Linked DNA regions of Homo sapiens: regions 2 and 3 are each linked to region 1. The links are contacts of gene promoters, found by promoter capture Hi-C in blood cells and fetal thymus (Javierre and others, 2016). All regions are on one chromosome and are shown on one strand. The core of a region is centred on a gene start or on the middle of the fragment in contact, and the rest is flanking DNA. Distances in the headings are between cores, read along the strand shown.

Region 1 (3,169 bases), core at 11-2,510:
TCATGATGGCCACCCTAGGAACAACCCAAGTGTGCATCAAAAGACAAAACAAAAAATGACAAATGGTGATGTATTTAAATAATGAAGCAACAGAAAACCAAACACAGCATGTTCTCACTCATAAGTGGGAGTTGAACAGTGAGAACACATGGACACAGGGAGGGGAACATCACACGCTGGGGCCTGTCAGGGGTGGGGGCCAGGGGGAAGGAGAGCATTAAGACAAATACCTAATGCATGCAGGGCTTAAAACCTAGATGATGGGTTGATAGGTACAGCAAACCACCACGGCACATATATACCTATGTAACAAACCTGCAGGTTCTACACTGGTATCCCAGAACTTAAAGTAAAATAAATAATAATAATAATGTAGCAACACAACAATGGAAATGAAAAAAAGTATCTACACAGAAATGCATCAGTGAATCTTATACCCATAAATGTTGCATGAAAGAAGCAAGGCACTGGAGAATACACACAGTATGCATGGTTCAATTTATATAAGATTCACAGATGAGTAAAATGAAACTGAATTGTTTGGGGATCTCATAGGTGGTAAATTTCTAAGGAAAAGCCAAGAAGTAACCCCCATCTGAATCAGGACTGTGACTGCCTCTAATAGGGAGGAAGGGAATCATGGCTCAAAAAAAAACACATGGCAAACTTCTGGGCGAGCCAGCAAAGTTCTATTTTTTTTTTTTTTGTCTGATTTCTGTTTCTTGCCTTCAAGGCCACAAAGATGGGTGGGCATGAATCACACCACACTGCCCTGGGGTTTCGCTTCCCTGGGACTTTCTGTTGGTGGTGATGGATACAGCTTTGCTCAGAGAAAAGGCACCAGATGGAACTGTAATTCTACCCCACTGCTCTTCTATGTCAGTCACTGGCTCTGTGTCCCACCAGCTCTGTGATCCAAGCCTCGGTTTTCCCATCTGTTCAAGGGGCATGACGGCCCCCATCATGCCTAGCTCATAGAGTAGAATAATGAATGTTAAAGGGCTCTGGGAGCTAATGCCTGAATTCCAGAGATCAACGGGGACTCGAAGGACAGCCAGACCTCTGCAAGGCGGCAGGGAAAGTGAGGCTGAGCTAAATCCCACAGGGCTGGCCCCACACCGCCTTGCCCTTCCCTGCGCTACCCGGAAGAAGAGGTGGGTACAGCTGGCAGGCTGGCAGTTGAGTTCAATATACCATGTTTCACCAGCCAATGGGCTGGGGCGATCAGAAGCAGGTCACACAGCCTGTTTCCTGTTTTCAAACGGGGAACTTAGAAAGTGGCAGCCCCTCGGCTTGTCGCCGGAGCTGAGAACCAAGAGCTCGAAGGGGCCATATGACACTCCTCCCGGACCCCTGGACACACACAGCCCTGGAGACTGGAGGTCAGTATTTGATCCCAAGCTCAGCTGTCCTCTGCCTGCTGTGGCCTGAGTCCCCTTCTCCTGGGGCCCTGCCTGGCACCTGCTGGGGGCAGGGTGGGAGGGGGAAGAGTTAGTGACAGCCACTGTGTCTGGAGCTCTCCTTAGCACACTGAGGCAGAGGAAGGGACAGCTCCTGGACCTTCCATCACCTCCATTCCTTTTGAAATGCTAGGCGCTTGTACAACCCATCTTGGGCCTGGAGAATAAGTCACCACACCTGTGTTTCTCAAAAGAACAGTGTCAGGGAACCCCTGCCTCAGCACAGCCTTAGAGGACTCATGGAAAATGCAGAATCCAGGCCTGTTCAATGGCACCTTCCTATGTTAGCAGCCAGGAAACCTGCTCTTGGACAAGCCCCTGGGATCCCACCCCCACCCCACCAGGGGATTCTTACACACACTGGGTTGGGAGCCCCTGGCTTTGGCAAGGCTTCTCAGGTGAGCGTCCAGTTGTTGGAGGGTACCCACCCTTTCCCCAAGAGAGGCAGCCACACATCCAACATCCTGGGATCTCTGTCTCCCAGCGTGGGCCATGTGCTTTATTTCACCCCCTAGAGGCTCATCCCCCATGAAAAGTCCTCCGCAGGCCCTCAGAAAGATAGTGTGGCCTCTGTGTGCCCAGCAGAAGAAGGACTGGACTTGGCAGTCAGCTCTTGGAGAGGGGGTGGTTAGGACACCTGGGGACAGGAGGAGGAGAATGACTGTCTGTGCACACACGGCTGGAAGGCAGAGGAGGCTGGGAAGCTGCTCTGTCCCCTGGGCCAACTACAGGCCCCCAGGCCAACAGCAACAACACTTTTAGTATTTTGTTATAAAGTCAAGAAATCTTTGCTACAGAGGGTGAGGAGAGGGAAGGAAAGGGCCATGGAACCGTCTATGTGGCTATCCCCAGAGAGCTTTTAGAGTGACAGGATTGCTTTCCCATTTCACAGATGAGGAAACTGAGGCCTGGAGAGGGATGGGAAGCTACCCAAGGCCCCATGGATACACCAGTGCACAACTCTTTCCTTCCCCCTCCTCTTTAAATGGGTGACTCCCAATGAAACCTGTAAGAGACAACCATAAGGGAGCTGACTGTGGCTGCTGAATTTGATTTTATTCTAAGGCCTGGTTTTATAATCAGCTTTCTCAGTCTTTACTGGAGTGTCAAGCCGAGGCATCATTTCTAGGGTCTTACAGGGTCTCTGGGCCAATAGTGCCCTGCTTCTGACCTGGAGCCAGCTGCCTGGTCATGAAAGCAGATCTGCAAAGGCTGGGGCCCCTGAGGCCAAGGCCACTCGCCATCACCCATTTTACAGAAGTGCTGAGCATAGGAGTGCCCTGGGCCCCCAAGAATCCCAGCCACCAAGAATCACGTAAACCATCCACTGTCTCACTTAGGCACCAGTCAGAATGTAGGGAACCCACCCCTAGTCATCCATCATCTTATCAACAGGACGGGGCTTGTAGCCACATTTATCAGGTAGGGAAACTGAAGCCTAGAGATATTAAAGCACTTGCTTAAGGACACACGGTTGGTCAGGATGGAAGGCGATGTCTCCTGACTCCCTGACAGGCACAAGAGACAAGCGAGAGGTGCCCGTGACGGCATGCTCAAGAACGTGCAGCCCTGGGCCAGCCAGGCCCCTGCTCCGTGCCTCTGTTTGCCCATCTGTAAAAGGTGAGGTTGGATCGAGGGTCCCTGAGGGCCGCCCACTGGATGGCTGTGCAGAGCCAAACGGAGAAGGCCCCAGGGTTCCTTTCACCCGA
Region 2 (2,847 bases), core at 141-2,640, 270 kb after region 1:
CGGCCATAACAGTAAATTTTGTTACCTATATTTTACCACAATCAAAATAAACAAAGTCAATCAAACAAAAGCAATTTAAAAGGAGAAATTAAAACATTCCCAGATTTTAAAAAAGCTGAGAGAGTTTGTCACTACTAGACTTGGCCTAAAAGAAATGCTAAAGGGAGCCTTTCTGGCTGAAAAGACACTAGACAGTAACTCAAATTCATATGAAGAAATTGGGAATTCTGGTAAAAATAATTACATAGATAAATATAAAAGCCAGTGTAATTATATTTTTGGTTTCTAACTCCACTTTTTGTTTTCTAACTTATTTATAAGACAAATGCCTAAAACAACAATTAAAATTCTATATTAATAGGCAAACAGTGTATAAAGATGTAATTTATGACTTTAAAAGGGAATGGACTGAGGTACATAGGAACAGAGTTTTTGTATGCTATTGAAACTAAGTAGGAATTAATTCCAACTAAGTTTTTATATATTTAGGATGTTAATTGTAATCCCCATGGTAAACATGGGGATAAATACTCATGACCTTGTATTTGCCAATAGAGTCTTAGAAAAGACACCAAAAGTAAAGGAAACAACAACAAAAATACATACATTGAACTTTGTCAACTTTTAAAACTTTTGTGCACCAAAAGACACTATCAAGAGAGTGTGCCAGGTGTGGTGGCTCACGCCTGTAATCTCAAACAGTTTGGGAGGCTGAGGTAGAAGGACTACTTGAGCCCAAGAATTCAAGACCAGCCTGGGCAACATAGTGAGACCCCATCTCTAAAAAAAAAAAAAATTAGCTGGGTGTGGTGGCACATGCCTACAGTCCCAACTACTCAGGAGGCTGAGGCAGGAGGATCTCTTGAGCCCAGGAGGTCGAGGCTGCAGTGAGCCATGATCACGCCATTGTACTCTAGCCTGAGTGACAGAACAAGACCCTGTCTCAAAAAGAAAAAAAAGAGTGAGAGAGTAAAAAGGTAACACACAAAATTGAAGGAAATTCTTGCAAATCATATATCTGATAAGGGATTAGTATCTAGAATATATAAAGAATGCCTAGAACTCAACACACAAGAAAACAAACAACCTAATTCAAAAAAAGGGCAAAGAACTTGAATAGACATTTCTTCAAAGAAGATATGCAAATGAATCTGGGTGTGGTGGCTCAAGCATATAATCCCAGCACTTACAAAAATTAGCCAGGCATGGTGGTACACACCTGTAGTTCCAGCTACTTGGGAGGCTGAGGCAGAAGAATTGCTTGAACCCGGGAGGCAGAGGTTGCAGTGAGCTGAGATTGTGGCACTGCACTCCAGCCTGGGTGACAAAGAGAGACTCTGTCTCAAAAAAAAAAAAAAAAAGATATTCAAATGGCCAATAATCACATGAAAGGATGTTCAACATCATTAATTTTTAGGGCAGTGGAAGTCAAAACCACAATGAGATACCACTTCACACCCACTAGGATGGCTACATTCAAAAAAATAGAAAATAACAAGTATTGGTGAAGATGTAGAGAATATGAAACCCTCAAATTTTGCTGGCAGGAATGTGAAATGTTTTGGTTACTGTGGAAAATAGTTTGGCAGCTCTTCAAAAAGTTAAACATAGAATTACTATATGACATCTATTACGTTCTTAGATACACACCCAACATTGAAATCAAGGATTCAAAAAAGTACTTATATATGCATGTTCATAGCACTGCTATTCACAATAGTCAAGGGGTGGAAACAACCCAAATGTCCATTAACAAGCAAATGGATAAGCAAATTGTGGTATTATACAAGTAATGTTGTTCAGCCATAACAAGGAGCTAAGAACTCACACATGCTACAACATAGGTGAACCTTGAAAGCATTATGTTAAGAGACAGAAGCCAAACACAAAAAAGATCATATATTATATTATTCCATTTATAGGAAATAGCCAGGGTAAGTAATTCCATAGAAATGGAAAGTAGAAAGATGGTTTTTCAGGGGCTAGACTGAGAGGGAAATAGGGAGTCATTGTTTAATGGATACAGAGTTTCCGTTTGGGAAGATGCAAAGATTCCACAGATGGAGGGTGGTGATGATTGCACAACCTTGTGAATGTTCTAAGTGCTACTGAATTGTTTGCTTTAAAATGGTTAACTTATGTTATGTGAATTTCACCTAAAACCCAAAACCTTGAAGAGAGATTTTGTCATCTCAGTTTTCTGATGAGAAATCCAATGTACCAGGAGGCAAGTAATTTGTTCCAGGTCGCACATGCCTTTCTTAGCAGTCAAGGTCAAGGATCACAGCTTCTGAATCTAAGGGCAAGCCATGGTTGGCCTCAACCTCAGGGGAAGTGACAGTAAAATCAGGAGGCTAGGGGAGAGGTGAGACACGATGTGTAGACTTCACCTGGATTTTATAGGCCTGGTGGCCTTGTTTGTTGGTTTGTTTAAAAAAAAAAAAAAAAAAAAGATTTTCCAAGGGCACACTCACCTTTACACATGTATTTTTTGTGCAAGTGCCAAAGTATTGAATGGATTTCGTAAACCCAACCATAAACCTCGGCAATGGCTCCCATAGGAGCTGCCGGCCACCAGCATGGAGAGTCTCATGAGCTGTGGCAAAGCCATGGCCCACCACACCCAGACTCCACCACCCACACCTCCCTCAGGTTACTGTCGCTGTGGGGGCCATAAACTCAGCATTTTATAGCATAGCCTGTTTTTTCCCAAATCAGTCACCAGCCCCATATATTTGCTATGTATGACCAGACTATTTAGAAATTTAAAGGTTTTCGTATGTACTGGAATACTTCTATTTTTAAGGTTTTGAAGACATGCTTGAAATATACTGAAAAATAGAATAG
Region 3 (2,771 bases), core at 9-2,508, 350 kb after region 1:
GTTACGTGGGTATATTGCATGATGCTGAGATTTGAGCTTCTCTTGAACCCATCACCCAAATAGTGAACATAGTACCCAGTAGGAAGTTTCTGAACCCTTGCCCCCTTCCCTCCCTGCCCCCTTTTAGCATTTCCAGTGTCTGTTCTTCCCATCTTTGTGTCTGTGTGCACCAGTATTTAGCTCCTACTTTTAAGTGAGAACATGGCAATATTTGTTTTTCTGTTTCTGCATTAATTTGTTTAGGATAGTGGCCTCCGTCTTCATCCATGTCGTTGCAGGGGACATGATTTGATTCTTTTTTATGGCTGTGTAGTATTCCATGGTGTGTGTGTGTACCGCATTTTCTTTACCTAGTCCTTTGTTGGTGGGCACCTAGGTTGATTCTGTGTCTTTGTTGTGCACAGTGCTGCAGTAAACATACAAATGCATGTGTCTTTTGAGTAAAATGATTTATTTTCCTTTGGTACATACCTAGGATTGCTGGGTCAAATTGTAATTCTATTTTTAGTTCTTTGGGAAATCTCCAAACTGCTTTCCACAGGAGCTGAACTAATTTACATTCTCACCAACAGTGAGCATTCCCTTTTCTCCACAACCTTGCCAGCATCTCTTATTTTTTGAGTTTTTAGTAATGATATAATATGGTATCTTATTGTGGTTTTGATTTGCATTTCTCCAATGATTAGTGATGCTGAGCATTTTCTCATATGTTTGTTGGCTGCTTGTATGTCTTCTTTTGAGTGGTGTCTGTTCATGTCCTTTGCCTAGTTTTTAATGGGGCTATTTGTTTGTTTCTTGTTGATTTAAGTTCCTTATAGATACTGGGTATTAGTCCTTTATTGGATGCGTAGTTAGTCCTTTATTGGATGCGTAGTTCACACATATTTTCTCCCGTTCTGCGGGATGTTTCTTTACTCTGTTGATAGTTTCTTTGGCTGTTCAGAAGCTCTGTAGTTTAATTAGGTCCCACTTGTGAATTTTTGTTTTTGTCACTTTTGCTTTTGAGAACATAGAAAATTCTTTGCCGAGGCCCATGTCCAGAAGAGTATTTCCAAGGTTTTATTCTAGGATTTTTATAATTTGAGGTCGTACATTTAAGTGTTTAATCCATTTGGAGTTAATGTTTGTATATTGTGAGAGATAGGAGTTCAGTTTCATTCTTCTGCACATGGTTAGCCAGTTTTCTTAGCGCCATTTATTGAGTGGTCTTTCTACTTTGTTTATTTTTGTCGACTTTGTCAAAGATCAGTCGGTTGTATGTATGTGGCTTTATTTCTGGGTTCTCTATTCTGTTCCATTGGTCTGTGAGTTATTTTGTTTATTTTTATCAGTATCATGCTGTTTTGGTTATTGTAGCCTTGTAGTTTTATGGGAGCTTTTGTTTGGTTTGGTTTGATTTTGAGACAGGGTGTCACTCTGTCGCCCAGGCTGGAGTGTGCAGTGGCACAATCTTGGCTCACTACAGCCTCCACCTTGGGAGCTCAAGCAATTCTCCTGCCTCAGCCTTCCAAGTGGCTGAAAGTACAGGTGCGTGACACCATGTCCGGCTAATTTTTGTATTTTTTGTAGAAATGAGGTTTCACCATATTGCCCAGGCAGGTCTCAAACTCCTGAACTCAAGCAATCCACCCAACTCAGCCTCCCAAAGTGCTAGGATTACAGACATGAGCCACCGTGCCCAGCCTGTAGTATAGTTTGAAATTGGGTAATGTGATGCCTCTGACTTTGTTCTTTTTGCTTAGAATTGCTTTGGCACTTCAGGCTCCTTTTTGGTTCCATGTGAATTTTAGAATAGTTTTTTCTGAATCTGTGAAGAATGATGTTGGGAATTTGATAGGAATAGCATTGAATCTGTAGATTGCTTTAGACAGTATGGACGTTTTAACAATATTGATTATTCCATGAGCATGGGATGTTTTTCCATTTGTGTCATATATGATTTCTTTCAGCAGTGTTTTTTAGTTCTTCTAGAGATCTTTCACCTCTTTACATATATTCTTAGGTATTTTATTTTTTCTGTGGCTGTTGTGAATAGGATTGCATTCTTGAATTGGTGCTCAGCTTGAACATTATTGGTTTATAGAAATGCTACTGATTTTTGTAAATTGATATTGTATCTTTACCAAAAATACATTTTTCTTTATATACTATGTATATAGAATTGTTTCTCTTATATCTAGTAATTTTAATAACATATTAACTATTTTAACTTTTAGTAACCCTAATTTCAAGTGAAAACCCTAAGATTACTTAATATAACATGACTTTAAGATTTAAAATTACTGAAGAGAATTTTGAAACTAGTTTTATTTACCAAGGATTACTAAAGTTGTGTGAACTAAAGGGCATTTGAGCGAAATTCTGTTTTTTTTAAATAAAATAATTGATTTAAGCACTTACTTTTCTTTGGTCAGTTGATTAGAGCTCTTTCGTATATTTTGGTAGTGATACATCACATACACATGACACATATATAGACATACAAACACACAGAAGCAGATCTTGTAGATTTATAAGATTCTTCATTTGCCAGTTTTCACTTTCTCTCCCCCTCTTAGACTATCAGTCATTTCCAAAGTCATAACAAAGTAGACGAAACAAGGTAGAAAATTTACATCTCAGAGGCACAGAAGCTATACCTAAACACCATTACCTGAAAACAAGTTGATTGCCAGAAGGAGGTTGCAGTGAGCCAAGATTGCACCTCTGCACTCTAGCCTGGGCAACAGAGCGAGACTCTGTCTCAAAAAAAAAAAAAAAAAAAAAGTGTC

What was found. Contacts are between HindIII fragments. The CHiCAGO score rates a contact against its expected background, and 5 or more counts as called.
Region 2: a fragment that was not itself captured here is called in contact with the fragment with the promoter of SNX20 in region 1 in 1 of 17 cell types (total CD4 T cells); the score reaches 5.6 in total CD4 T cells.
Region 3: a fragment that was not itself captured here is called in contact with the fragment with the promoter of SNX20 in region 1 in 8 of 17 cell types (activated CD4 T cells, total CD4 T cells, non-activated CD4 T cells and 5 more); the score reaches 13.3 in activated CD4 T cells.

What each region holds. Positions count from the first base shown.
Region 1 is chr16:50,679,403-50,682,571 of GRCh38, reverse strand. It overlaps SNX20 (sorting nexin 20), which reads left to right and starts at 1,260. Exons shown (of 4, transcript NM_182854.4): 1 at 1,260-1,382. The HindIII fragment of the contact is 15,976 bases long and covers 1-3,169 here.
Region 2 is chr16:50,410,464-50,413,310 of GRCh38, reverse strand. No RefSeq gene overlaps it. Among named protein-coding and RNA genes, the nearest start is that of LINC02178, 17 kb to the right of the region's middle. The HindIII fragment of the contact is 4,017 bases long and covers 1-2,847 here.
Region 3 is chr16:50,330,333-50,333,103 of GRCh38, reverse strand. All of the region lies in intron 8 of BRD7 (bromodomain containing 7), which reads left to right. Among named protein-coding and RNA genes, the nearest start is that of BRD7, 37 kb to the left of the region's middle. The HindIII fragment of the contact is 6,524 bases long and covers 1-2,771 here.